Regions from separate parts of the Homo sapiens genome. Here regions 1, 3, 4, 5, 6 and 7 are each linked to region 2. The links are contacts of gene promoters, found by promoter capture Hi-C in blood cells and fetal thymus (Javierre and others, 2016). All regions are on one chromosome and are shown on one strand. The core of a region is centred on a gene start or on the middle of the fragment in contact, and the rest is flanking DNA. Distances in the headings are between cores, read along the strand shown.

What was found. The method cuts DNA at HindIII sites, captures the fragments that hold promoters and counts their contacts. A CHiCAGO score of 5 or more calls a contact.
Region 1: a contact is called between a fragment that was not itself captured here and the fragment with the promoter of SRP19 in region 2, in 7 of 17 cell types (total CD4 T cells, total B cells, naive CD8 T cells and 4 more). The highest score is 9.3, in total CD4 T cells.
Region 3: a fragment that was not itself captured here is called in contact with the fragment with the promoter of SRP19 in region 2 in 1 of 17 cell types (total CD4 T cells); the score reaches 7.4 in total CD4 T cells.
Region 4: a contact is called between the fragment with the promoter of TMED7 here and the fragment with the promoter of SRP19 in region 2, in 7 of 17 cell types (total CD4 T cells, naive CD4 T cells, non-activated CD4 T cells and 4 more). The highest score is 13.3, in total CD4 T cells.
Region 5: a fragment that was not itself captured here is called in contact with the fragment with the promoter of SRP19 in region 2 in 1 of 17 cell types (M0 macrophages); the score reaches 7.1 in M0 macrophages.
Region 6: a fragment that was not itself captured here is called in contact with the fragment with the promoter of SRP19 in region 2 in 2 of 17 cell types (fetal thymus and activated CD4 T cells); the score reaches 9.3 in fetal thymus.
Region 7: a contact is called between a fragment that was not itself captured here and the fragment with the promoter of SRP19 in region 2, in 1 of 17 cell types (fetal thymus). The highest score is 5.4, in fetal thymus.

What each region holds. Positions count from the first base shown.
Region 1 is chr5:115,604,757-115,608,515 of GRCh38, reverse strand. The region is part of intron 3 of TMED7-TICAM2 (TMED7-TICAM2 readthrough); the gene reads left to right. All of the region lies in intron 2 of TICAM2-AS1 (TICAM2 antisense RNA 1), which reads right to left. Among named protein-coding and RNA genes, the nearest start is that of TICAM2, 4.2 kb to the right of the region's middle. The HindIII fragment of the contact is 1,583 bases long and covers 1,147-2,729 here.
Region 2 is chr5:112,858,939-112,862,663 of GRCh38, reverse strand. SRP19 (signal recognition particle 19) reads right to left here and starts at 1,377. Exons shown (of 5, transcript NM_003135.3): 1 at 1,247-1,377; 2 at 81-156. The coding sequence starts at 1,287. RefSeq lists enhancers at 1,080-1,379, 1,480-1,559, 1,318-1,612. The HindIII fragment of the contact is 2,166 bases long and covers 1-1,528 here.
Region 3 is chr5:115,253,869-115,257,950 of GRCh38, reverse strand. All of the region lies in intron 1 of PGGT1B (protein geranylgeranyltransferase type I subunit beta), which reads left to right. Among named protein-coding and RNA genes, the nearest start is that of PGGT1B, 7.0 kb to the left of the region's middle. The HindIII fragment of the contact is 3,451 bases long and covers 1-3,238 here.
Region 4 is chr5:115,624,728-115,628,782 of GRCh38, reverse strand. It overlaps TMED7 (transmembrane p24 trafficking protein 7), which reads left to right and starts at 2,747. Exons shown (of 3, transcript NM_181836.6): 1 at 2,747-3,182. The coding sequence starts at 2,991. It overlaps TMED7-TICAM2 (TMED7-TICAM2 readthrough), which reads left to right and starts at 2,747. Exons shown (of 4, transcript NM_001164469.4): 1 at 2,747-3,182. The coding sequence starts at 2,991. RefSeq lists an enhancer at 2,682-2,851 and a silencer at 3,022-3,091. The HindIII fragment of the contact is 9,571 bases long and covers 1-4,055 here.
Region 5 is chr5:115,272,219-115,276,068 of GRCh38, reverse strand. CCDC112 (coiled-coil domain containing 112) reads left to right here. Exons shown (of 10, transcript NM_001040440.3): 5 at 1-75; 6 at 463-853. Among named protein-coding and RNA genes, the nearest start is that of PGGT1B, 11 kb to the right of the region's middle. The HindIII fragment of the contact is 4,036 bases long and covers 569-3,850 here.
Region 6 is chr5:115,847,330-115,851,470 of GRCh38, reverse strand. The region is part of intron 1 of AP3S1 (adaptor related protein complex 3 subunit sigma 1); the gene reads right to left. Among named protein-coding and RNA genes, the nearest start is that of AP3S1, 7.5 kb to the right of the region's middle. The HindIII fragment of the contact is 713 bases long and covers 1,494-2,206 here.
Region 7 is chr5:115,180,506-115,184,611 of GRCh38, reverse strand. No RefSeq gene overlaps it. Among named protein-coding and RNA genes, the nearest start is that of TRIM36, 13 kb to the right of the region's middle. The HindIII fragment of the contact is 1,379 bases long and covers 1,246-2,624 here.

The sequences.
Region 1 (3,759 bases), core at 689-3,188, 2.7 Mb before region 2:
TGATTTACATATTTAAAGCTATAGATTTCCATGATAATGCTACTTTATCTCTTGCGTTAGTTTTCTATGCTGGGTAACAAATTACCACAGGTTTACTGGTTTATAACAGCATAATTTTATTATCTCACAATTTCTTGGGGTTAAGAGTTTCAGCATGGCTTAACTGGGTCCTCTGTTTAGGGTCTCACAAGGCTGCAGTGAAGTCAGCTGAACTGCATTGTCATCTGGAGCTCACAGTTCTCTTCTAAATTAATCAGATTGTTGATAAAACTTAGTTCCTTGAAGCTGTAGAACTGAGGTCCTCAGCTACTTAGGGCTGCTCTTTTATATAAGCAGTGTAACGTGACATGCCTTTTTAAGGTCAGCAGAACTTCTGACTAGAATCTGTTTCAGAGAAGGCCAGAAAGAGTTCACTTGGTTAGGTCAGAGTCACCTGGGATAGTCTCCCTTTTGATTAAGTCAGAGTCAACTAAATAGGCACCTTAATTGCATCTGCAAAATCCTTTCACTTTTGCCATATTCTCTTACTAAATGTAACAGGCGTTGTCCACACAAAGGTATGGATATGGGGCTTGGAAAGGATTTCAGGAACCATCTTAGAATTCTGCCTACTACTAACTCCATTCTACAAGTCTCAATATCTAGCATTTTAGTTATTCACTAACTGCAAAGTTTTTTATTTCATTATCATTACTACTTTGATCCATAGATACTATTTGGAACTATAATTTCCAAACATGAATATTTAAGTTTTCCTTTATTGTTGATTTTTAACATAATTGAATTGTGATCAGATGATATATTCTCTATATGATTTAAATTCTTTGAAATGTGTTAACAGTTGCTTTATGACATAATAAGTGGCTGGTTTTTATAAATTTTAGGATGCTTGAAAAGAGTTCTACAGTTATTTATGTTCATTAATCATTTTAGTCATGTTCATTAATTTTCAAGTCTTCAGTATCCTTAGTGATGATTTTTTTGTTTTTGGTATATATCTCTTGATTACTAAGAGAATTGTGTTAAAATGTAGCTAGCATGATTTTAGATGTGTTTGTGTGATTCTTTCAATTTCTCTCTTTTTCTATTTTGTATTGGGATACAAATGTATAATTGTTATATTTTCCAGGTTAATTGAAAGAAGCTTTATCATTACAAAATTATCTTTATTTCCACTAATAAATTTTGCCTTAAAATTAATTTTATTTGATATTAATGTAGCTATACCAGCTTTCGTTTGGCTAGCACTTGTGTCGTATATCATTTTCCACAGTTTTACTTTCAGTCTTTGTGTATATTTAGTTTTTAGAGGTGTCTCGTTTATATCATATTGTTGTTACTATTAGTATGTGTCCTATCTGTTCTATGTTCCTTTTTTTCTACTTTTTTTTTGATAGTTTTGTTTTTGTTACTCCTTTTTTTCTTCTACCTATCAGATGGGATGTTGTATATATTTCTGTTCATGGTTGTTCTAGAAATTTCATTATGCATCTCTGACTTATCAACGCCTAAACTCGCCCAGACTTCTGCGCAGTGCAGTAGCCTTAGAACACTTTAATCCCATTTACTTTCCTCCCAGCTTATATATGTGGTTGTCACATATGTTGTATCTCTTTAAATGTAAGTTATTACTGTTGTTTTATATAGTTAATATTGACTTAGATTTACCCACAAATTTGCCACCTTTCTTACTCTCCATTCCTTGCTGTGTCTTTGAGCTTCCATCTGGAGTAATTTTTCTTTTGCCTGAGTATATGTTTAGAATTTACTTTAGTGCAGGTCACCTGGTGGCACATTTACTTTGCTCTTGTTTTTTGAAATGTCGTTATTTTGCCTTCTTTTTGAAGGACTTTTTTTTTCTCCCTTGAAATGGATGGTTATCTGGAAAGGTAAAGATAACTTTCCCTTGTATTCTGACTTCCACTGTTACTGGGAAGAAGTCACCTGTCAGTCTTTTGCTCCATTTAGACTAATCCATTTTTTTTTCCTCTGGCTGCTTTCACGATTTTCTCTTTGTAATTATAATTTTTTTTTTTTGAGTTTCATTGTGTTGTATATACGTGAGGATTTTATTGTATTTTCCCACTTAGGCTTTGTTTGGCATCTTAGATCTGTGGGTTGATACATCAGTTCTGGAAAATTCTCAACCATCATTGATTTGTTCAAATTTTGTTTAGAATCTTACATCTATATCCATGAGCGATGTTGGTCTTTAGTTTTCTGTTTTTGTAATGTCTTTTGTCTGATTAGTATGATACTAATGCTGGCTTAATAGAATGATTTCAGAAGTATTCCCTCCTTTTGAATTTTTTTGAAGAGTATGTGTAGGATTGGTATCATTTCTTCCTTAAATGTTTTGGTAGAGTTCACCATTGAAGTCACCTGGACATGAAGTTTTCTTTTTCGGAACATTTTTCACTACACCTTAATTTCTTTGATAGATTTAGGGCTTTTAAAATAATCTGTTTCATCTTGACTGTTTGGCTTTTAAGGATTTTTTCCATTTCATATAAATTGTTGAATTTGCTGGCATAAAGTTGTTCATAATCTTTCCTTAGTAACCTTTTAATAACTGGAATGTCATGTCCCTCTCTCATTTCTAATATTGGTAATTTGCATCTGCTCTCTTTTTTCTTGACTTATCTGGCTAGAAGTTTATTGATTTTGAACGTCCTAGTAAACCATCTTTTGGTTTTATTTCTGGGGGAATAAAGTACCATAATCAAGCTTAGTAATCCTTCTTCTTACCTTCCTCCAGGATTTTGACTAGATGGGATTCTTTGTCTAATGAAGTGACCTAAACCTTCATTTCTACAGAATTGAGCCGTTGATAGGCCTGTCTTTACTGGGTTGCTGCAGTTTTCCACTGACTAGGACTGTTAGCACTAAGAGGCATTCCAGTGAATTTCCTCGTTTCCATATATAGCCTATATAGCCTTCTTGTTTCCATTGTAAAACAGAAACACAGTTTTCCTCTGATAACTGGAATTAGCTACCCTGGCCAGTCCATTGAGCTGCTTTTCTGTTACTTTAATGGCATGAGGAACCTCAAAAGGCCAGGGCCAGTCTCGGCTCCTAAATCATCAAAACATGATTATTTTTCCTGAAGGAAGTGTTCTACTCTTGGACTCTAGAATTTCTAAACCCACCAAGCCCAACATTTTGGGAATGGGAAGCAAAAATTATTCACGTAGATTCTTAGGTATACTATTGAACAGAAACACTCCTTCTACCCTTTGGCTCTGAGACCTGTGCATCCTGATAGTGGGGAGACAGCTCCATATATTGACTGCTTATTAAATTAATGTACCACATTCTATAGGACACCACCCTACCTTTTCATGATGTTGCCTCCCAGATATCTCTGTAACCGAGCTCTCATTTTGCCACTCAGCTGTTCTATCAAGCTAGTTACTTTAGGAGATAAGCATGTGTTAAAACCATTGAATTCACTTCCATTGCCATAAACTGTGTACCTGGTTGGAAGAAATGTTTTTGGGATTCCTATGCAATGGATAAAACCTTCAGAAATGTCAAGAATATTAGTGCCAGTGGAAACACTGCAGGCAGAGAATGCAGATTTATACCTTGAATGTGAATTATCTTTGTGAAGACAAAGTGCTACCTATTTCTTATGGAAATTGCCCAATGTAACCATCATGTTACCGGGTTGCCAGCAAGTCTCATTGACAGTAATGCCATATTAGGAACCCAGCCTTGGAAATGTAGTCACACTCCACGTTGTTGCCAGGTTGGGCA
Region 2 (3,725 bases), core at 128-2,627:
GCTCTAACAAGATTACGTGGCCCGACCAGGATGACACCCCCCATTCCCTCGAGGATCAAGGTGCCAGCCATCTTGCTTACCTTACTTATGGGGATTCGCCTTCCCTCTGCGATGGTCTTCTTATTATTTAAATAAGCAGGATAGATACAAATAAACCTGCCATAGACAATAGCATAAGTGGTATCACTAGAGCAGTAAGAGGCAGGAGAAAAGGGTCGGGTGGCAGGGAACCAAAGGCCAATTCATGCTGCCTAGATATCAGATGGGTACTCCCTTTTCAACCCCTCCTTTTTCTGCGTGGCAGTTGAAAAATCAAAGTACCTCGGAGTGGTCCCCTCGAGCAACTAATCAGACTGGCCGCGGGCCTACTCCTCTTTCTGATTGATCCCCCTCCCTCAACCAATCAGACTGGCACAGGTCAATGGGAAACGTCTAGAGGGTATTTAAACCCTAGAAAATTCTGTAACCAACAGCTCTTGGGTAGCTTGCTGGAGCCGGCTCCCACCCTGTGGAGTGTACTTTTGTTTAAAATAAATCTGCTTTCGCTGCCTTGCTTTGTGTGTTTTGTTCAATTCCTTATTCAAAACGCCAAGAACCTGGACAACTACACTCAACAGATAACAAGTATTTTCAAAAATACATTCTTTCGGTCCGTGGTAGTCGTCATCATTGCTGGTACACCTATGCTATTATTTGCTTAATGTTATTTCTTTAAATTACCTCACTTTAACTTATTTAAAAATAAACTTTATCCACTACCTTGGATGGAAAAAAACCACAGGAATAGAAACAAAACGACTTGGGTAACTGTTACATTAGACAGAGCAGCCCGTCAAAAGTTCCTGAGAATGGGCCCGCCCTCTTATATAAAGTGTCCGAGGTATTAAAAACCTTAAAATTTCACAAATGAGCCTTTCTGAACGCAACAATACTTAAAAAGAACACATTTCTCACACTGTGATTATATTACTTGATATCATGTCCACGTAGCACCCAAAATCCTTGTCTCGCGTACAGATAAACACTAGGCTACCTATGGTCGGAATTTCAGGAGCCCTGAGAAGAGCCTGGTGGCTGCTGCAGGATTCAGAAAAACGAGCTGCCAGGGAGAGGCGCGGGGCCCGTACAGAGCGAGTTGGATCAGCTAGGCCATTCTGGAGGCCGCGGAGCGGAGAAGCGCGGTGTAGCACCTGCAGCACCACAGCAAGCCCCTTCCTTTCGGAGGACCCACCGCCTCAGAACCCACCTGTCCTGGTCGGCCGGGGACCGCGCGGCAGCGCAAGCCATCTTCACAAGAGTCTCAACAACCCAGGAGCCGCAGGGAGAAACCCGGCAGAAACCCGGGAGGAACCCGGCTCTGAGTTTCCGAGACAGCCCGCTTTTCCGCCGGAAGTCCTGCCCAAGAAATGGTTCCGCGTCCGCGATTTCTCATCGCCTGTTTGTTCCGGCACCTGTCGCTCGGCGCCAGGATCTCTAGTCTCTGACGTGGCATGAAGACTTCCCTTCTCGCGAGAGAATCATGAAAGCTTCTCATTCCTTTCCCAAGCCGGGAAGACCATGTGGGGCGCATGCACCGCCACTAAAAAGGGTTTAACTTCGACCCTCCCTCGTTTCCAGTTTCTCAGCGAGTATGGGTGGTACTAGCTACTCTCTGTTAAGGGGCGAAGACTGTGCCACGAGGGGAATCTGTGTGGTTCAGGATGCAAATATATGTTAGACAGGGAAGGAAATACTCCTTACGTTTAATTTTTCTCCGTTCCTGGGCTCTAGAGCTTGCTTTCAGTTTGGCAAAATGGATTTTTGTAGTGGTAGAACTAGCAAAGTTATAGACGTTGTGTTTCAGTGTGCTCTGCGTTAGAAACTTAGCTATTCACCTTTTAGGCCGGGTGCGGTGGCTCACGCCTGTATCCCAGCACTTTGGGAGACTGAGGCAGGTGGATCATGAGGTCAGGAGTTGGAGAGCAGCCTGGCCAACATGCTGAAACCCCGTCTGTACTAAAAATACAAAAATTAGCCGAGTGTGGTGGCACACGCCTGTAATCCCAGCTACTCGGAGGCTGAGACAGGAGAATCACTTGAACCCAGGAGGTGGAGGTTGCAGTGAGCTGAGATCACACCACTGCACTCCAGCCTGCGTAACAGAGCAAGACTCCGTCTAGGAAAAACGAAACAAAACTATTCACCTTTTAAAACTTCTGAAGGATACCATGTGCCATCACTACAGGCATACTTCATTATTGCACTTCACTTGCTGCTGCGAGTAGATACTGCCTTTTTACAAATGGAAGGTTTTTGGCAAATCCGCCTGAAAGAAGTTGCTTGGTGCCATTTTTCCAGCAGCGTATACTTTGTGTCACATTTGGTAATTTTTGCAATATTTCAAACCTTTTCATTATTTCTGTTATGGTGATCGGTGATCAGTGATGTTTGCTGTTACTATTGTAATAGTTTTAAGGCCGGGTGCGGTGGCTCACGCCTGTAATCCCAGCACTTTGGGAGGCCGAGGCAGGTGGATCACGAGGTCAGGAGATAGACACCATCTTGGCCAACATGGTGAAACCCCATCTCTACTAAAATATAAAAAATAAGCCAGGCATGGTGGCACAGGCCTTTAGTCCCAGCTACTCGGGAGGCAGGGGAATCTCTTGAACCCAGGAGGTGGAGGTTGCAGTGAGCCAAGATCACACCACTGCACTCCAGCCTGGCGACAGTGCAAGACTCCGTCTCAAATAATAATAATGTTTTGGGGCACCATGAACCATGCCCAGATAAGATGGGGAACTTAATGGATAAATGTTGTGTATGTTTTAACTGTTCGACCAACTGGCCATTTCCCATCTCTCTCCCTCTTCTGGAGTCCCTATTCCCTGAAACACAACAATGTTGAAATTAGGCCAGTTAGTAACCCTACAATGGCCTCTAAGTATTCAAGTGAAAGGAAGAGTCACACGTCTCACATGTCAAAAGATGGAAATGATTAAGCTTAGTGAGGAAGGCATATGTAAGCCAAGATAGGCTGAAAGCTAGGCCTCTTGGCACCTAACAGCCAAGTTGTAAATACAAAGACAAAATTCTTGAAGGAATTAAAAGGAAATTACTTCAATAAACACACAAATGATCAGAAAGCAAAACAACCTTATTGCTGATATGGAGAAAGTTTTAGGGGTTTGGATAGAAGCTCAAACCAGTCACAACATTCCTTTAACCCAAAGCCTAATCCGAGCAAGGCCCTAACTCCCTTCAATTCTGTGAAGGCTGAGAAAGGTGAGGAAGCTTCAGAAGTGGGAAGCTAGTAGAGGGTGGTTCAGGAGGTTTAAGAAAGAATCCATCTCCATAACATATAACATAAAAGTGCAAGGTGAAGCAGCAAGTGCTGATAGAGAAGCTGCAGCAAGTTATCCAGAAAATGTAGCTAATATCATTGACGATGATCAATGATTAGCTAGTATCATTTAGTGGCTACACTAAACAACAGATTTTTCAATGTAGACAAAACAGTCTTCTATTGGAAAAAGATACCATCTAGGATGTAGCACCCAAAATCCTTGTCCCTTTGAGAGAAGTCAATGTCTGGCTTCAGAGCTGCCCCATTTAGTGGCTACACTAAACAACAGGTTTTTCAATGTAGACAAAACAGCCTTCTATTGGAAAAAGATGCCATCTAGGATGTAGCACCCAAAATCCTTGTCTCTTTGAGAGAAGAAGTCAATGCCTGGCTTCAAAGC
Region 3 (4,082 bases), core at 264-2,763, 2.4 Mb before region 2:
AGTCATTTGTTTCGAAGTATTATGGCAGCATCTATGTGCTAGTATTTTAACTTCATGATTAAGTCTAATGTATCATCTAAGGCTCTCTCTTCACTGACATGGTTATCAATTTTATTTGTGTTCTTATTTCTTAATGTAGATGCTTATTTATAATTTTAGATGCAATATGATGTAGTCATAGGCCCATCTGGTATCTAGGCAGGAATGTAGTCCATTGTTTAAGACACTTGTTTAAGACACTTGGTAAAGGATGGGGTTGCACCAGAAAGGGTCAGGACAAGGGATCCAAAGTTTGGGAATCTAGTCAACTCTCATAAATTAGTGTTTTCAGTATATTTCTTATATCAGTATGACTAAGTTCTTTTTTCCACTGTCCAGACTATAGACTGTTTTTCATTCTTTTTTTTTTTTTTTTTTTTTGAGATGGAGTTTTGCTATTGTTGCCCAGGCTGGAGTGCAATGGCACGATCTCGGCTCACTGCAACCTCAGCTCACTGTAACCTCCACCTACTGGGTTCAAGTGAGTCTCCTGCCTCAGCCTCCCTAGTAGCTGGGATTACAGGTGCCCACCACCACGCCTAGCTGACTTTTTGTATTTTTAGTAGAGATGGAGTTTCATCATGTTGGCCAGGCTGGTCTCGAGTTCCTGACCTCAGTTGATCCACCCGCTTTGACCTCCCAAAGTGCTGGGATTGCAGGAGTGAGCCACTGCGCCCATCCTTCTTGTTGTTCTTATTTAATCTTTGGGGTATGCGTGTCTTAAGCCTGGAATATTTGACATCTTTTGGAGACACTTAGGTTAACCCTCTTGTCTGTGAATTGATTCTTTGGTAAAGCAACTTGATTGGGGGTTGGGGGATGTTACTTTTTCATCCTTGTAAGATAAACTTCTTATACATATTGTTCAGAGTGAGAGAAGAGGGGTGAACAGAAAGATATTGTTTGCTTATTTACACTTCTCAGGCTGCAGATTCAGATTGAGTTCTAGGGAAAAGAAGAAACAGAATAAACAGATATTCTCTGAAAGAAGTAAAAAAGTAAAAATAACTTCATTGGCTTGATTTTAGGTGCGTGTGTTCGCACAATTACCCCTCTATACACCTGTGCTGAGTCAGGTTGCCCAGCAGTTTATTCCCAAGTAGAAGTCATCTAGGAACCATAAAACCCTACATTATACTATTTCTCTGGGAGGCCCACAGCCCAAAATTCCTTTGTGTTTTTTGTGGCTTGTTTTAATTCTCTCTCTTTCAGTTTTAGGACTACTTGAGAATTCTGATGTGATTGGAAGAGGAATGGTTTCCCAGACTATTTTAAAGGAGGCCAGATATTTGCCCCAAAGTGACTTATTGGTTCTGTCTGCCAAGCATTTCTGATGGGACCTCTTTTTATAAACATAAGCCATTCACCATAACTCTGTTACTCTCATAAACCTTATGGTCTCACCCTAAGTCTTCACCTATGAGTTGAAAATGCTGGACTTTCAGGAGCCCTTAATAATTAAGTATGCAAGATTTTAAAATACCATCACATGGCTGATTTCTTGTATTTGGCACTTACATGTAGAGTGCATTCATATCCAGGAGCAAGTAACATGACAAACAGATCATTCAGATAACGTATACAGATAAGAGTATGACCTTAAAGCAGGTTTTCTCAACCTCAGCACTATTAACATTTTAGGCCAGATAATTCTTGGTTGTATGGACCTGTCCTGTGCATTGTAGACATTTAGCAGCAGCCGTGGCTTTTACCCACTTGATGCCAGTAACTCCCTCCTCCACTGTGACAACCAAGAATGTTTGATTATGATATATTATGTTAGGGTCAGTGTTCCCAGTAGAGAACCACTGTTCTCAAACAGTGCTTCTGAAACCTGCCTGCACATTAAAATTACCTGGGAAGTTAAATACAAAAACAAACCGAAAGGGCCCAGACCCCACCTTACACCCATAGATTTGATTGTGAAGTAGGACCTTGATCTCTATGTTATGTTGGTGGTGTTTTGGTCGTTTGTTTTTAAGCAGATTCTAATGAGCAGTTTTTAAGCAGATTCTAATGAGAAGCACCCCTGTGGAGAATACCACTTTGGGACTTAGACTTCTTGAGTAGTTTTGATTGTCTAGTGTTGAAATTTCAAGTAAATTACTTGAATTTTTTGGGCTTTATATTCTTCAGTTAGAAAATCAAAGAGATGGACTAGATCATTTCTAAATTTCTTAATTTTGAAAAAAATGCCAACTTGTTTTTATAGCCTTTTGCATAAATTCTCTTACTACATAGCTTTTACTGACAGGAAGATCTTTGTTTTATCCATTGTCTGACCTCAAGTCCTTCATGTTTTCCTCCACTTTTGTCTCTGTCTTCTTTTTGCCCTTTTCCTTAATAACGCTTTAATAAACTGTATTAGTAGATGCTTAATTGTACCTGACTATAAATATAATCATTTACTTTATGTATTATATCAAAACCAAAAAACCCTGTTAGAGCTCTCCGGGAGGGTTAGATGTAGTATTGCAGGTCCTTTATTAGTTCAGTAAATATTTGAGTGCATACAAACAAAGTGGACCTTCTCTCATGAGACATAATTACCACCAAGGGCAGTGATTTTCACACTTTGTTGCTATTATGTAGAGGTTTTTCCCATGTCTAAAGGTTTATTGTGTTTGGAGAAGCACATTCCTCTGGGGAAAATGGTTACAACCAAGAGTCTATAGAAAAGGCCTGTAGTGTTATAGACTGTGATTAGATCCTAAAGTCGTTGTTACTCTTGTCCCTCCAAATCATGGCAAAGACCAAGGATAATGGCTTCCATTTATTGCGTGCTTATTGTGAGTAGGTAAGCACAATTACTGTATAAGGTATAGTAATGATTAAAATAATTATTGGAAGCTGATTAGAAAAGTTTAGGTATCCTGCCCAGAGTCATGTGGTCAGTCTAGTGAAATTGGCCAACTTGAAATTTGACTGCAGAGTCTGAGCTTTGAACTACTGTACAACACTGCTTCCCACATAAAGGAGTTCCACTGCCCTTAATATAATCCTGATCTTACCTAGATAAATTACCTCTCTAATTCAAATAGATCTCAGTGTGTTGTTAGGATTAAATTGAGATAATATATGAGAAATGTCCCAGCTCAGTGTCTAATACATGGTAATAGTCTCTCAATAGGATGTTTCCCAAATATTTATTTCTGAAGTGCACCCAAATCTCTGTAGTTTTAGTTTTTGCCCTTAAGCTTTGGTTGGAATTAAATTACTTTCTGATATCTCCTCCTGTTATCTAATGGATGCTGCTAGTCTTTTTCCACCAGGGATCAGAGCGATAATTTGCCCTTAAAAAAAAAAAAAAGAGAAGAAATCACTATTTTCTCATCTCTCCTAAAGTTGGTACAGATTGAGCATCCCTAATCCAAAAATCTGAGAGACTCCAAAATCAGAAACGGTTTGAGCACTGACATGAAGCCACAAGTGAAAAATTCCACACATAAGTGCTTAACACTAACTTTGTTTCATGCACAAAATTGTTAAACTATTATATAAAATAAGCTTCGTGTGTAAGATGTATATGAAATTTAAATGAATTTCATATTTAGATTTGGGTCCTGTCCCAGTGGGGTATCATCTCATGTATATGCAAATATTCTAAAATCAAAAAAAAATCTGAAATCTGAAACAGTTCTGGTCCCAAGCATTTCAGATAAGGGATACTCAACCTGTAGTACTATTCTAGATAATAGTACTCTAGATGCACAGGAGAGAAGTAAATTTATTACATACAGTGGATACCTCAGGACATTAAGGCTTAACTATTTCTTAGAATCTTCATTGAAAAGATTACAGAATACATCAGGTAGCTCTGCTGTAAAATTTTAGACCAGATAATTTGAAGTGTTAATTTATTACTATTAGTCATATGAATTGTTAGATTATGGAAATGATGTAACAGTACTCAATCAAGCTATACTAGAGACTGCTTCTCAACATGAAAGGAATTATATATAACAAATTCTTTGTGTTCAAAGCCATCGGTAAGATACTGATTTTTATATGAAAGCACAGGTTTAGATTTCTGATTTATAGTG
Region 4 (4,055 bases), core at 1,498-3,997, 2.8 Mb before region 2:
TTAGACTTCCAAGTAGCTGGGACTATAGGCATATGCCACCATGCCCAGCTAATTTTTAAAAACTTATTATATAGAGGAAGTATCACTATGTTTCCCGGGCTGGTCTTGAATGCCTGGGCTCAAGCAATCTTCCCACCTCAGCCTCCTAAAGTGCTAGGATTACAGGCGTGAGCCACCATGCTCAGCTGGGCCTCAGAATCGTAAAAATTAAAGATTAAATAAAAATTTTCAAATTAAAAAATGTCCAATAAAGGTTATTGAGATCTGAGATATTTAAAAATATTTGATAATTCATTTAAAATAAACAATAAACCCATTACATATTGCATTAGTTTCCTGAGGATCCCGTCACAAATTACTACAAATGTGATGGCTTGAAACAACAGAAATTTTTTCTCTCAGAGCTGGAGAGTCAAGAAGTCTGCAAGTAAGGTATTGCCAAGGTTGATACCTTCTGGAAGCTCTGAAGGAGAAGGTGTTCCAAGCCATTCTCCTAGTTTCCCATAGCGATGGGCAATCCTTGGTGTTCCTTGACTTGTGAACATATCATTCATTCCAATCTGTATCTTTGTCTTCAGTATGCCATTCCCCTCCCCCAACCCTGCCCCTGTATCTTTGTGTCTGTGCATCTCAAATCTTCCCTCCTCTTATAAGGTGTGTTAGTCCATGTTCATACTGCTATGAAGAAATACCCAAGACAGGGTAATTTACAAAGAATAAGTTAAATGAATTGATAGTTCCACATGGCTGGGGAGGCCTCACAATCATGGTGGAGGGTGAAGGCACAGCAAAAGCACGTCTTACATGGCAGCAGGCAAGAGAGCGTGTTCAGGGGAACTGCCCTTTATAAAACCATGAGATCTCATGTAGCTAACTACCTGTTATAAAACATGAACAATGTTTATAAACATGAATAATGCATTATACGTGCATTATATGTTTATAAACACAAATAATGCATTATAAACACAATACTGCTTTATGGGAAACATAAATGAATGGGAAGAACCCGCCCCCATGATTCAGTTACCTCCCACCAGGTCCCTCCCATGACACATGGGGATTATGGGAACTACAATAAAACCATCAGATCTCATGAGACTTATTCACTATCACCAGAACAGCATGGGAAAAATCTGCCTCCATGATTCAATTACCTCCCACCGGGTCCCTTCCGTGACATGTGGGGATTATGGGAACTACAATTCAAGATGATATTTGGGTGGAGACACAGCCAAACCATACCATAAGGATAACAGTCTTTAGATTTAGGGCCCACCCTAAGTCCCAGGATGACCTCATCTTGAGGGCCTTAACTTAATTACATCTGCAAAAGCCCTATTTCCAAATAAAATCATATTCACAGGGGTGGAGGGGTTGAAACTTGGACATGTATTTTTTAGGGGGACACAATTCAACTCACTGCACACATTTACATAAATAACACATCTTTTAATAAAAATATTTTCGAAATAAAAATTTAGCAAGAAGAGTGACCTTATTTTTGTAAATCTTTCATATCTAGATTTAAGGAAGAAGCTGGGTGCTCATTTCCTTTGATATTCAATCTGTTATGCTGTTTTGGTTGAAATATATAATGAAAATCCAGCTTCATACAGATCATTACATACCCTCTGAAAGGGTTTCAGGAGGCTTCTGGGGACTTCAGAGCAACACTTGAGAACCACTGCTCTAAAGCATATACTCCATAAATATATGTAAAATGGAATTTCCAGGCTGTGGCTACATATTCCAGGCTATATATATATATATATATATACATATATACACACACACACACACACACTGTATATAGGTGTGTGTGTTCTGTGTGTGTATACATATATTCTACTTTATTAGATAATGGCACATTGTTTTCCAACTTGATTAACCAATTTACTTTTTCACTAGCAGTGTATAAGAGGTTTTGTGGCTCTATAAGTCGACCAATATCTGTTATTGTTACACTTAAAATTTTTGCCTATCTTGTGGTATGTAATGTATTGATTGCACTGTGACGTTTAATTTAACAAAAGTTCATCTAGTGCTTGCTATGTACCAACCACTTCTAGGTACTTTTTCCAAATATTGGTACTTTGTAATAATTCTCTATGGTAGGTGCTATTATCTCCATTCTACAGATACACACTGAGGCAGAGAATTTAAGCAAGTGGCCGGACGTCACACAGCCAGTACGTGGCAAAGCAGGGATTAAGCACTCCTGCAGTCTGCTCTTAGAATTCGCGCTCCTTGCCCAGCTGCTTCCCCCAAATATTTATTATTACTTATGAGAAAACTCCGCAAATTGCAAAGCGCTCTACCACCAACGATTAGCACCCTAGGGCAAAATGAGCCCTTTACCACTCCCTAGATGCTCCCCAGCGCTAAGTTCCCAGCGGAGGTTGCAGTGAGCGCAGATCGCGCCACTGCACTCCAGCCTGGGTGACAGGGCGAGACTCTTGTCTCAAAAAAAAAAAAAAAAAAACAACAAAAAAAGCCAGTGATTGGAGCGTAATTACCCTCGCCAACCGCCTGTAACCACGGCGGCCGCCACGCCCCGTTTCCTGGTCTCGCCCCTCTCCGCCCACGACTCTGGCCCCGCCCCTCGTCCCAGGCTGCAACGGAGGCAGAGCCAACGCCTCGCGGGCTTCCACGTACGCACTCCAACGCGTGTTCCCGGAGAAGAACGCATCCGGGTCACGGGAGCCGGTGTCTCAGGCTCCGCCCCTTCACCCCCCGAAAGGCTAATCCCCACTTCCGACCCTCTCAGGCCTTTTCCGCTTCTCTTTTACCTCCCCAGGTCCGCCCGTCTGCGCCCCTCACAGGAAGCCGGAGGGTCGCTCTGATCCCGAATCTCCCACAGGCGTGAACCTGCTCTGCTGTGTATCTTTGCGGGGTGGCCTGCGCTGAGGCCTGCCGCGCGCGGTGAGTCCGCGCAGACCTGACCCTGCGTCTCGCAGCTCGGTTGAGGCCGCCGCCGCCTTCTCGGGATGCCGCGGCCGGGGTCCGCGCAGCGCTGGGCGGCCGTCGCGGGCCGTTGGGGGTGCAGGCTGCTCGCACTGCTGCTACTGGTGCCTGGACCCGGCGGCGCCTCTGAGATCACCTTCGAGCTTCCTGACAACGCCAAGCAGTGCTTCTACGAGGACATCGCTCAGGGCACCAAGTGCACCCTGGAGTTCCAGGTATCAGGGGCCTAGCAGTCCCTGGGCCCCAACTCGCGGCTCCAGGATTGGGGGTGTAACTTGAGGGATGGCACTTTCCTGTCCGTGTTTCCCCGTTCTTAGGCTAATTCAAAAATCGCTTCTAGGTAGCTGATGCCCAGCATTTGACTTTCCTCTAATAAACCTTGGGTGAGAGATGTTAAGACCGGGTGTTAAAATATATGAATTCCAGAAATGCTCCCTTTAGCATTTCTTTCCATCTCATTTTTAAGGCCTATTGAACTTTCTTCCTTAAAAGATTCCCTTAAAGAAAATCATTTATACTCTGTAGTACCCAGTGTCAACCCTCTACTCTCTAATCCACACCTCCAATTTAATTGGATTTGGAGTGCTGCCAATGTCTAACTTCATTGCTTTTCAGTTTTACCAATATTAGGACTGTTGGTTAATACGGTCCTTGTCATTGGAAGAGCTCCATTACAGGTTGAACGGCCATTTGCCAAGGGAGTTGTAGAAAGAATTGCTGTGATAAATGAGAGGCCCCTTCTGATATTTGGGATTATATAAAAAAGAAACTTTAACAGAATGTGGTTTATTCGGTTGGTTAGAACAGTCTTTACTGAGCTTCAATTTTGGTTGGTAGGCGCATTTAACATTTGAGTAGCTATTGAATACTAGGTGCCAGTGGTACAGAAGTGGTCGAAACAGATAGGGTCACTGCCATCATTCATGATTCCCCTCTCACCCTGCTTTTCTTAACTGGTATCTGCTCATTCATCAGAACTGTGCCTTAAGAGCAGTAAGTAGGATCCATGAAGGAAGACTTCCTTTGGAAAATTATTTTAAGCTGAACTTTAAAGGATGAGCTATAAACACCTTGGTAAGGGAGGAGGG
Region 5 (3,850 bases), core at 1,337-3,836, 2.4 Mb before region 2:
TGTTGAGAAGCTCAGAGAAATGATGGAAGAAATTGAAAATGCAATTAACACTTTTAAAGAAGAGCAGAGGTTGATGTATGTTTTAAACTCATTTTAATATAAAATTATTGACCTTTATTTTTTAATAACTGGCCCCAGTACATTTTTGTATATAATGCATTCTGTTATTATGTATTTGAGTCTTATACAAAAGCAATATAATATCTTTTTTGTTTTCAGTTTTAGGTGGCTTTTCATATTTAAAGCGAAATTTTATTCATATTTAGTTACTATAAAATCCCAAATAAGAATTTGAAAGATTGTTTTTATCTCTGAGGAGACTCTTTTAAGGCTTAAATTTATAAATGTTAATAATGTTAAGTGGAGAAGATGATATAAAGAGTCAGGTATCTTAAATTTGATGGAAAATTAAGGGTTAATATGGATTGTCTTCTTATTCAAACTTTATTTTTAAAATTTTAGATATGAAGAGCTAATTAAAGAAGAGAAGACAACTAATAATGAGTTGAGTGCCATATCAAGAAAAATTGACACATGGGCTTTGGGTAATTCAGAAACAGAGAAAGCTTTCAGAGCAATCTCAAGCAAAGTTCCTGTAGACAAAGTAACACCAAGTACTCTTCCAGAAGAGGTACTAGATTTTGAAAAATTCCTTCAGCAAACAGGAGGGCGACAAGGTGCCTGGGATGATTATGATCACCAGAACTTTGTAAAGGTGAGAAACAAACATAAAGGGAAGCCAACATTTATGGAAGAAGTTCTAGAACACCTTCCTGGAAAAACACAAGATGAAGTTCAACAGCATGAAAAATGGTATCAAAAGTTTCTGGCTCTAGAAGAAAGAAAAAAAGAGGTAATAATTATAATAGCTATTATTCATTCTGTGTTTCTATGTTCTAGGCACTGTACTAAACACTTAACATGTCTCATTAACTTTACAGCAATCCCATGAAGTGTGTTTATAGTTCCCCGCCCCCGACAATCTAATAGAAGATGAAACTGAGGCATTGAAAGTTAAGTAATTTTAGCCAGGCACAGTGGCTTACACCTGTAATCCCAGCACTCTGGGAGGTTAAGGCGGATGGATCACTTGAGCTCAGGAGTTTGAGACCAGCCTGGGCAACATGGCAAAACCCTGTCTCTACAAAAAATACAGAAAAATTAGCTGGGCATGGTGCCACGCACCTGTGGTCCCAGCTACTTGGGAAGCTGAGGTGGGAGGATTGCTTGAGCCTAGAAGGTTGAGGCTACAGTGATCTGTGATTGCACCACTGCACTCTAGCCTGAGCGAGACCTAGTCTCAAGAAAAAATAAAAATAAAAAAAGGAAGTTAAGTAATTTTACCCAATTAATAGAACAACATTTGGACTTCCTCATAGCCAAACATGTCTCTGTCACAAATAACATAATGGGACAAAAAGCCTCTGATTATGGGTCCAGTCCTCCGTATCCACTTCTCAGAAATGTGAGCAATCCAGATCCACTGAGACTTTTGAAAAAAGTCATCTTACGAGCAAAGGCCACATTGTTTTGAATAGAAAAATCAAGAGGCAGTAGAAAAAATGCTTTGACTAGTAAACATTTCTTTGAGATTTTTAAACTTCAACCATATTGCTTATTTTAAAGACTCAAAATGTTAGCTACCCCAGAAAAAAAAATAACGCCTGATTGTGGCAGATACCTAAAAAGGTCCATTTTTACAAAAATATTACTCTGGCTTTGCATTAGATCAGGATTTCTTAACCTTGATACTATTGACATTTGGAGCTAGATAATTCTTTGTTGTGGGGGCCTGTTCTGTGCATTATAGGATGGCATCCCTGGTTTCCAGCGGGTAGATGCTTATAATGTCTCCTTAATTATGATTATCAAAAATGCCTCTAGCCAGTTGTCCACTGGAGGGGAAAAATAGCCCCTAGTTGAGAACCACAGTAAGTCAGAGTCTTTTTTTTCTTTTGTAGAGTTCAGTGATGACGAAGTTTGACTTACCTGGTTTAACAAAAAGGTTGTGTTTATTCCATAGATGGTATACCCAAGGAATATTAAAGAAATAATTGAGTCCATGTTTAGTCTAAAGTTTTAGAGGGAATAGCTGCATTTTTGTTGTTCTTGTCATTCTCCTCCCTCCCCCCAGCAATAAATTGAATGTAGGGAAATTGACTTCTCGGGTTTTAAGAAAAATGTTTGAAACATAAGTCATTTGGGCTTTTTTCCCCAGAATGCTGAAAACATGGGATTCTCAAAGTGGTCCCTAGACCAGCAAAATCAGCATCACCTGGGACCTTATTAGAACTTAGCGGGCTCCAACTCCAGACCTAATTAGCACTGTGAGGGTAAGGCCCAACAATCTGTGCTTTACCAAGTCCTCTAGTTTATTCTGCTAATGAAAACCACCTCTTTAGGAAAAAGAAACAGACACACTGCTTCTTGTGATAAAAGTAAACCATTCAGATTCTAGCTTATTTTCCTTGTTCCCATCTGCTCTATTTCCTGATATTTGATGACTGATATATCATCAGTTTGATACGATATGAGCAGGACATAGGGGTGAGATAGAAGGGTTTGTGAAAGTGGAGGTGCCATTTACTGAAGTAGGGCATGTTGGAGGAGGAAAGGGAAGTTTGGAGGAAAATATCAGGAGTTCAGTTTTAAATCTACGGAGTTTTAAGATGTTGAGTAGTAAATTTACCATTTTTATCTCCCACTTCCTTTAATATGTCTTGTGTTTTTAATAAGTGAAGATATTATTCTGACATTTTCAGACATGCTCTGAACTTTCTGGCCTGAATGCCTTTGCTTATCTTGTTCTCACTTTCTGGAACCTCCATTCTTTCTTTCCCCCTCCAATCCCAGCTTATCAAAATTGGCCCAGATCAGATGTTGCCTCCTCCTTGCCCACCCAAACATAAGTAGCTTCCCTCAGGATTTCACTGACACTTAACACCTTTTATATGATGTGTTGTGGTATGCCCATGTTGAATTTCACCTAGAACAGTGCTGCTCAGACTTGGTCCATGGACTAAATATGGGTTTGCAAACTGTTACTGGTTTACAGTGGGATAAAATAGTTGCACCAGAATTAACTATGCAGTGAGCACTGTTTAGTTCAATTGACTTTTTTTTTTCCATAGAAAATTTTCACATTGAAAGAAGCAGTGCATTGATTTGCGTTTTAACACAAATTCCCAATATTTTTGCAGACTGGTATTTTGAGTAGCACTGTACTAGGTGGCATTTGGTATAGTTTTAATATTGTTTCATTGTTCCTATCACATTGCCTTGTTTATAGTATATATACATACCATAAAGATTTATTGAGTGGAATGAATGATACACCATAAAGAAAGATGAGGAAATAGTTTCTTGACTTGGAGGGAAGGTAATTCAGTGAATATGCCCTAAATGGCATGGAGAAGCCTGCTAGAATTTGAAATAATTTTTACATACCCATATGTAAAGACAGCTCTGTAGCTATTGAGCTGTTTTATTTATTTATTTATACATACTTCGGAAGCACTATGTGCCAGACGCTAACTCATTTAATCTTCATAACAACACTGTGCAAGAAATCCTACCTACCATTTTATAGATGAGCAAAATGAGGACAGAGAAGTTTAGTGGCTCATCCAATGCCACACCTAGTAAATGGCACTGCCAGGATTTGGTCCCAAATAGTCTGACTTCAGTGCTCATGTTCTTAACCACCCTACTCTTAATTCTTCTTCTGATATTTGACCAGATAAAGATCACTCAGAAAGTATTCTAAGCCTAGAAAGAGAATTTGGAAGCAGAAATGAGATGATCAGAGGAAAGGGATGTTGCCCATGAAAATAAAAGGAGCAGATAGGCC
Region 6 (4,141 bases), core at 601-3,100, 3.0 Mb before region 2:
AGAAACTAGAACCTTTGTGCATTGCTGGTGGGAATGTAAAATGGTACAGCCACTGTGGAAAATGATGTGCCGCTTCCCCACAAAAAAGCAAAACATAAAATTACCATATAATCTAACAATTCCACTTCTGGGTATGTACCTATAAAAAGTAAAAGCAGGCACTCAAACAGATATCAGTACATCTATGTTCACAGCATTATTCATAATAGCCAAAGGATGGAAGCAACCCAAGTTTCCACTGACAAACGGATAAACAAAATACGGCATCAAGAAAGAAACTTTTATCTGAGGAATGCAAGTCCTTTTAAATGATCTGGCCCAGAAAGGCATTAAAATGTGACAGCAATCACATCCTACTTCTCTCCTTTGAGCTATGAGAAATATTTATCTATTGAAACTGCTTTATACTGCCACAAGTAACTAGAAAATAACCTAATAATGCTGCACCACACACTATAAACTACTCCCTGCATCTCAACAATGTTAGTCAATCATTAACCAAAGTTATTTCTATAAACTAGTGAGAATTCCTGACAGACAACTTAGTATCAGCCCACTCCATGTCCCCTTTATTTAATGCCTTCACAAACCTGCTTGTAACAATGGCCAAAGGGAGCTCATATCCAAGGATACTTGAGTCTGAGTCTCCCAGGCAACTGTTCTCATTTTGGCTCAAGTAAACTCTTTGAATCCTATTTTGTGCTTCAGCCTCTTCCTTTTAGGTCGATGGTATGTACACACATACAATGAAATATTATTCCGCCTTAAAAATTACGGAAATTTTGATACATGCTACATAACATGAGTGAACTTCGAAGACGTGCTAAAAGAAAAGCCAGTTTCCAAAACACAAAAATTCTATGATTCCTCCTATATGAGGTTTTTAGAGCAGTCAAATTCATAGAGACACAAAGTAGAATGGTGTTTGCCAGGTACTAGGAGAAGGGGAGAATAGGAAGTTAGTGTTTAATGTGTAAGAAGTTTCTGTTGGGAAAGACTAAGTTCTACAGATGGATGGGTGGTGATGGTGACACAACAATGTGAATATACTTCATGCCACAAAACTGTACACTTGCAACTGTTAAAATGATAAATTTTGTTATATATTTTTTACTACAATAAAATTTATTTTATAACCCTTTCATGTCACACTAAGATATATTAATGACAGGAAATAGGATATGTATGCGGTAGAATCAACTAGTACTCTTCCTCAGTAAGCACAAGGTAATCAAAACAATTCAGTGGGTCTGGAATATTAAAAGATAGCCCTTTCCTCCTGAGTAACAAAGAGAACTGTGACTGACAGCAAGTGATTCTTGTAATTACACCAGGCTTGCAAGAGTGGAAAAATGTAAATGCTTTTCAGTACAATAGAGGTGGGTCTAGTGGGCTTCACATAAACTCTATTCACATATAATTAAGACAATAAGCTAAGAAAAAAATGGTTTTCTTCTTGAGTTCTGTTACTTCACAGGTGACTTACGAAAGCTTGATCACAGGTCTCATTGATAGAGAGGCTATACAGAACTGGAGCACTCATGTTTTTTGTTTCCTTTGTTTTTGTTTTTTTTTTAGAAGACAGGGGCCCTGCTATGGTTGCCTAGCATAGCCTCAACTCCTGGGCTCAGGCAATCCTCCCACCTTACCCTCCCAAGTAGCTGGGACTATAGGCACACACCATGCCTGGTTTTGATGCACTGACTTTTACCTTCATTCACTGGCCTAGCAACACCTTCTTTACAGAGCCTAACAATAACTGGGTAGAGAAGAAAGTAACCAATCAGAGGAGAGCCTCACTGCCCCTTCTGCAGAGGCACTGTTTAAATGGCAAAATGCAAGTGTGATTCAAAGAGGAGTATCTCCTCTTGTGGAGAACATGCTGGGCATGATGTCATCAAACTGAATTATGTCAAGAAGGGGCATGGTGTGGCATACAGGCATGATCTGTCCCCATCGTTCTCTTTAGCTTTATCTCCTGCCTCTCTTCCCCGTGATTTCTCAGCTTGCCTTCTTGCTATTCCTGAACACATCAAGTGTGGTCCCATTTGAGGGACACTGCACTTCTTTCTGCCTGAAACATTCTTTTCTTTACTGTTTTCATATTCTTCCTCTCTTATCTCATTCAGTTTTCCTCTCAAATGTCAGGTCGTCAAAGAGGTATTCCCAATGACCCTATCTAATATAGGCTTTCCTCCATCAAGCTTTATTCCCTTATACTGTTTCATTTGTCTTCAGACTAATTACAATCTTAAATAATTTACTGCCTATCTCCTATCACCAGAATGTAAACCCACAGGGCAAGGGTGACATCCGTCTTACTTATCACTGTATTACTAGTGCTTAGAATAGGGCCATACAAACAACAAATAAATACTTGAAAGAATATGGACAGGAAAAGAGAAAGAGTGTAATGGAGAGACAGATCAGAAAGTATCCAGAAAGACCACCCCTCTTCCCAGAGGCCTATCTCTAGAAGGCCTAGTCAGAGGCCTAACTCTACAAGGGCTTCCTCCACTTGGAATCTTAAGAAAACAGTTATTAGCTAGAATTGTCCTTTATTCACTTCAATATCCTTCTAAGAGTTGCTTGATTCTTCAGCAAAGAAAGCTGTTTTAACTATATTGTACTTCAAAGGATTTGATGAGAGGAAAGCTGAAAAGGCAGATGGGTGAGGAAAAAATGTGTTTAGTTAGCCTAATGTGACAGTTTTATACAACAAGAAGTTGGAAGGGGACTGGGCCCTCTAGATGGTAACAACTCAGAATCACCTTGAATTATAAAACAGCAGTGACAAAATCCATAATCCACAGGTACAAAAAAGACTAAGTGCTAAAGGTAAGAATGAACTCTTGACTTTCAAACAAAAATTAGCAAAGATTTCCTTTCAGAACGAAAAAGACAAGGACACTGATAACCTCAGGTTACACAGGTAAGTTTAATTTTATACAAAAGAAAGATATATACACATTTCTTAGGACATGCAAATTATTAATGTGCTATTACCATATACTGTCTTTTTTAAATTTTAACAAGAGAGTGGCTGAACATTAACATATTCAGTTATCTTAAAGCCACAATGTTTAATAAATCCATCATCAGCTTCAAAGCATTTATTTGTGTTATTAATGTCTAAAAGGTATATCCTATTCACTGGGACATTCTGAAAAGAAAAATAAAGACCGGGGGGAAATACACTAAGTGTTAATAATTATCTGTGTGTGGTAAAATCAAGAATGACCTTAGTGGCCTTAATATTTAATTTTCCACAGTCACAAAAAAAGAAACTTACTTAAAATTGAAAACAACTTTGCTAAAGAATATAATATAGGTACGTCACGTAAGGCCTTCTTTTAGAAAAGCCATGAAATGACCTATAACATTGTCCTATTTATAACACTTACCTCATAACCAAAAATCATTTTAACTTTGAAGACTTTATTTCCTCCTTTACAATTAAATATTCAAAAGGTTTAGTCTTAATTTTTAAAAAGCAAGTTTTCCAGCATACTCCACATAAAAACTGTGAACGTATAAGCATTTGGGTTTTTCGAGGATACTTTGATATAAGGAAAACCTGAAATTAAGATCTATTGTGACACAGGTTCAGTATTGCATATTACAAGGAACTATTCCTGATATTAACAACCTCAGAAGCAATCTAAAATTTCAGAAAACTAATATATATTAAAAGCTAATAAAGAGGGAATAGTGGTGATAGACATGTTAGTTAGCTTGATTTACCCATTTCACAATATATACATATACAAAAATAACATGTACACGGTAAATATATGTAATTTTTTTTTGTCATCTATACCTCAATAAAAACATATATTTTTTTAAATTTGTTGAGACAGGGTCTCCTCTGTCACCCAGGCTGGAGCGCAATGGCGCAATCTCAGCTCATTGCAGCCTTGATCTCCGGAGCTCAGTGATCCTCTCACCTCAGCCACCTAAGCAGCTAAGACTATAGGTGTGTGCTAACATGACTCACTAATTTTTGTATTTTTGGCATAGAGACAGGGTTTTGCCACGTTGCCCAGGCTTGTCTTGAACTCCTGGGCTCAAACAATCCTCCCATCTAGGCCTCCCAACGTGCTGGGATTACAGGCATGAGCCACTGTACCCGGCCATAAAA
Region 7 (4,106 bases), core at 686-3,185, 2.3 Mb before region 2:
TTCTGGTAATGGAGGTGGATCCTTCATGAGTATCTTGGTGCTGTCCTCGTGGTAATGAGTTAAGTTCTTGTTCTATTAGTTCTCATGAGAACGGATTGTTAAAATGAGCATGACACCCCCCCCCTCCTTTCTTTCTTGCTCCCTCTTGCCATGTGACATGCCAGCTTCCCTTCACCTTCTGCCATAAGTGGAATCTTCTTGAAGCCTTACTGGAAGCATATGCTGGCACCATGCTTCCTGTAAAGTCTGCAGAACCATGAACCAAATAAACCTCTTTTCCTTATAAATTATCCAGTCCCAGGCTAATCTTTTGTAGCAACACGTACTAAGCCAAGTAGTAACAGAAATTATATGGCTTCAAGTCTAAAATGTTCATTAATATCTTACCCTTTAAGAAAAAGTTGCTGACTTCCACATTAGACTATTAAAAAGCCTGAATATATTTAAAAACATTAAAATCATTCAAAGGATGATCTTTGCTCAAAACAGAATTGGATTAGAAATCAACACACAGAAAAATAGAAAATCTAAACTATTTGGAAATTTGAAATAATTTGGAAATTAACACATTTGTAAATAACCCATGGGTCAAAAAAATCACAATAGGAAATTTTAAAAATATTTCTAACTTAATTTTAAAAAAATCAAAAGTCATGGAATGTAGCCAAACCAATCAGTACTTAATGGTGAAAGAATGAATGCTTTTTCCCCAAGATTGGGAATAAGGCAAGGATGCCCACACTTGCTGCATGCATTCAATGGAGGTTCTACTGGAGGTTCTAACCAGAGTAATAAGGCAGAAAAATAAAGGCATACAGATTGGAAAGGAAGAAATAAAATTGTCTTTAATTACAGATGATATTATAAGGAATCTGAAAATAAAATCTGGAATTGATAAGTGAATTTTGCCCCATTGTAAAACACAACCTTATGCAAAAATCAGTTGTGTTTCTATATAACAGTAATTAACAATCCAAGAAATGACACCAAGAAATCAATTTTATTCACAATAATATTAAAAGGAGTACCTTGCAATATGTAATACAATAAGTACAATATCTGAACATTAAAAGTGATAGAACATTGCTTGGAAAAATTAAAGAAAATCTCAATAAATGAATATTCCAATATTGTAAAACCAGATTATGAGATGGTTTTACAAATCCATAATTTAATAAAAATAACTAAGCAGTACACTGACAATTAGTGAATTTTATGGTATATAAATTGTACCTCAATAAAGCTTATTCAAAAAAGATTTTTTTTTTAAAATGACCTTTTTGAATACAGGTATCAGTCAAATTTTAGGTTTACATTTTTGAAATAAAAACTAAGAAAATGTGAGAGTTTATTAAAAGTAAGATATTTTAGGTTTCTTCAGTCTCTAACTCTTAAAAAGCTGAACATTCTTCACAGATTTTAAATTCAAAACCTTCAAAAATACAATTTGTGTGTCACCATTAAAAAGAAAACTTGGATTGTGTATTTTGTTGATGTTATTTGTTCAAGCTATTATGTATTATGCTGGTTGCCATCAGAAGGAGAAAATAGAATGTTGTAAATCTCTATGTAATACTTATTTCAATAATTGGCATAGCAATAGAGCAGTTGAAGAATTTTCTCCATTTGATGAAAGTTGGCAATTAGCAGATTTTCCACAGCAAGGGACCCTTTAATATTGCTGGTCTTCTCAGTGTGAAAAATTCACACATCATATAATCCCTCTATTAAATATCTTCCTCTTAGGTGGGGAAGTCCCCTGTGAAGCAGCATCTGTCATGTTAATTTCATTCTTATTTTTAGAGAAATATGAATTAACATTTTTCTTAATTTTGGTTCTTTTAGGGAGTGAAGTTTTAAATTTATATGATTTTAATCTTTTTTTCAGAAGAAAGGGACATAATAAAGCAACTTTTATTTGGTACCTATTGACAGTTTGACCCTGTGTCTTTGAAGTGAGTGCATGCATAGAATTTCAGAAGAAATTTCAATGTGGTCTTCATTTTTATATGCCTATCTTCTTTGAAAGGTCTTTAATGCTCCAGAGTGTTCTTCACACAACGACAATAAAGAGTGGTAAATACCACCAGGCATTGGTGTAAATAAATGCTCAGGACCCAACTTATGTTCTCTAAAACTCTTGCCTCCACCACTTTCTTGGTCTTGGGTAGGAATCTAGGCAACTGATAAGGATATTTTGTCTGGAGTATTTTCTAGTAGCAAGTGATCAGGTGGACAGCCCTTTTTTAAGAGCGATCTTTTCAGGGAGGAGAATGGCAGCTAATGCGGCCAGATGGCAAAGGGATCCTCAGATCAGAGATTTTAGGGTTAAGAACAGGAAGGGGTTAGAGACCATTTAGTCAACACCAGTCATTTTATAGAAGAGAAAACTGAAGCTCTGAAAGTTGAATGGACTTACTCAAGGTTAATAGAAACTAACAACTTTCTACCCGATATCTGTCTCCTCTTCTTCCTTACTAACAAATCCTTGATTTTGTTTAGAGTGGCAATGTTCCCAGAACAAAATAATCACCTCCCCAGCCTTCCTTGGAGCTAGGGGATGCATATTACCCATTTCTCACAAAGGTGTAAGTGGAGGTCACTGGATGGGGCTGGGGGAAGCTTTTTAAGGGGAAACAAATGTCTTGTGTGCTCTTGTCTCTACCTTCCTCCTTCCTGCTTGTAATGCAGACATAAGATTAGCTGTTCAGCTCTAACACTGTGGTTTTTAATCAGGTGCCAGAATCCATTCTGGGTGTGAAAAAATGTTCACTTTTAGAGCAATATCTCTTTCTGGTAATCCATCAAGTGTTGCTAATAGTAGGCAAGAACCCATTTATGGATGCTACAGACCTTAGTTGAATTCTACTAGTTTTCCTATGGACGCAAAGAGTATACATGAAGTTCTACAGAACTTAAGAGGGACAAGAAGCTTCTAGCTGTATATCCAAGAAGCATTATGATTGTGTCTTGCCTCCTACAGAGCCCTAATTGTGAACATCAGCATGTTAACTTTTGCTGCTTGTTCTAAGAGGTTTTCAGCACCAGCTCATAAAGTAAAGTAACACACCGAAGAAGCAAAGTTCTGGTAGAACAACAGTTACAGAGCAACACTGTTGGAGCTTTACGGAGAGGTGTGCTGAAAAAAGAAAGAAATGTGTATGCTTCTGGATTTCTGGACCAAAGTGGAGAAATTAGAAAATGACAAAAGGAAGAGGCAAAAAAGAAAAACCCCCACGTCTCATTAAGCCTGCAAAACTCTTTTACACCTGTAAAATAGGTCATTTCGACACACCACCCTGCCCACTGGTGCTGAGCGCAACGCAAACTCTGCCAACTTGCTTAAGGAAAGTAGTTTCACGAACTTTGTAGTAAATCTTATTCGTGTCTAATCTAATTATTGCTGGCAGCTTTTTTCTTTTCTTTTTAAAGAAAAAACATCAAGCCTTTAATCGCAAAGACTCCTTAGAGCAGAGTGATAGACTGGGACTGATTTTGTTCAGCCAAGTTTTCTTTTGAAGAGAAGCAAAGATTGTCAGGTATGGTCTGAGGCCATTTCAGCTGTAGCCTCCTAGGGAAGCTGCTGTTATAAAAAGAAGTATAGAAATGTGAGAAGCCTGCACTGAATGCTTTAACTCAACCAACGAAACAAATAATTAGAAAAGTGGACTTGTGGTAACTAACGGTCAGAGTGTCCAGGAACCTGGCTGGCAATATTTTTTTTCTTTTCTTTCCTCTTCTTTTTTTTTCTTTCTTTCTTTCTTTTTTTTTTTTTTTTGTTGTCGTTGTTAAAGGAAAGTTGAGTATCAAAAGGATATGGAGATACAACAGACCTTACACAGAGTGTTTAAAATACAATCCCTGTATTTGTTCTCATCTCCGAAGCGCGGGGCTTGGTCTTTATTACCTATTGGATTTCAGGAAGGCTGACTTGAGATGCGCCGTTGCCATTTCCTGGCCTTCACTTATGTATTTATTTATTTATTTTCCGGCGCTGGCAGCCAGCCCCTTTGTTGCGCCTCCTCTGTATTCGTTTCTGTCTGCCCTCGCACCTCCAGACAGTGAGATGGGGCTTTTTTCCAGATCTTCGCGCCGAGAGCCGGGGA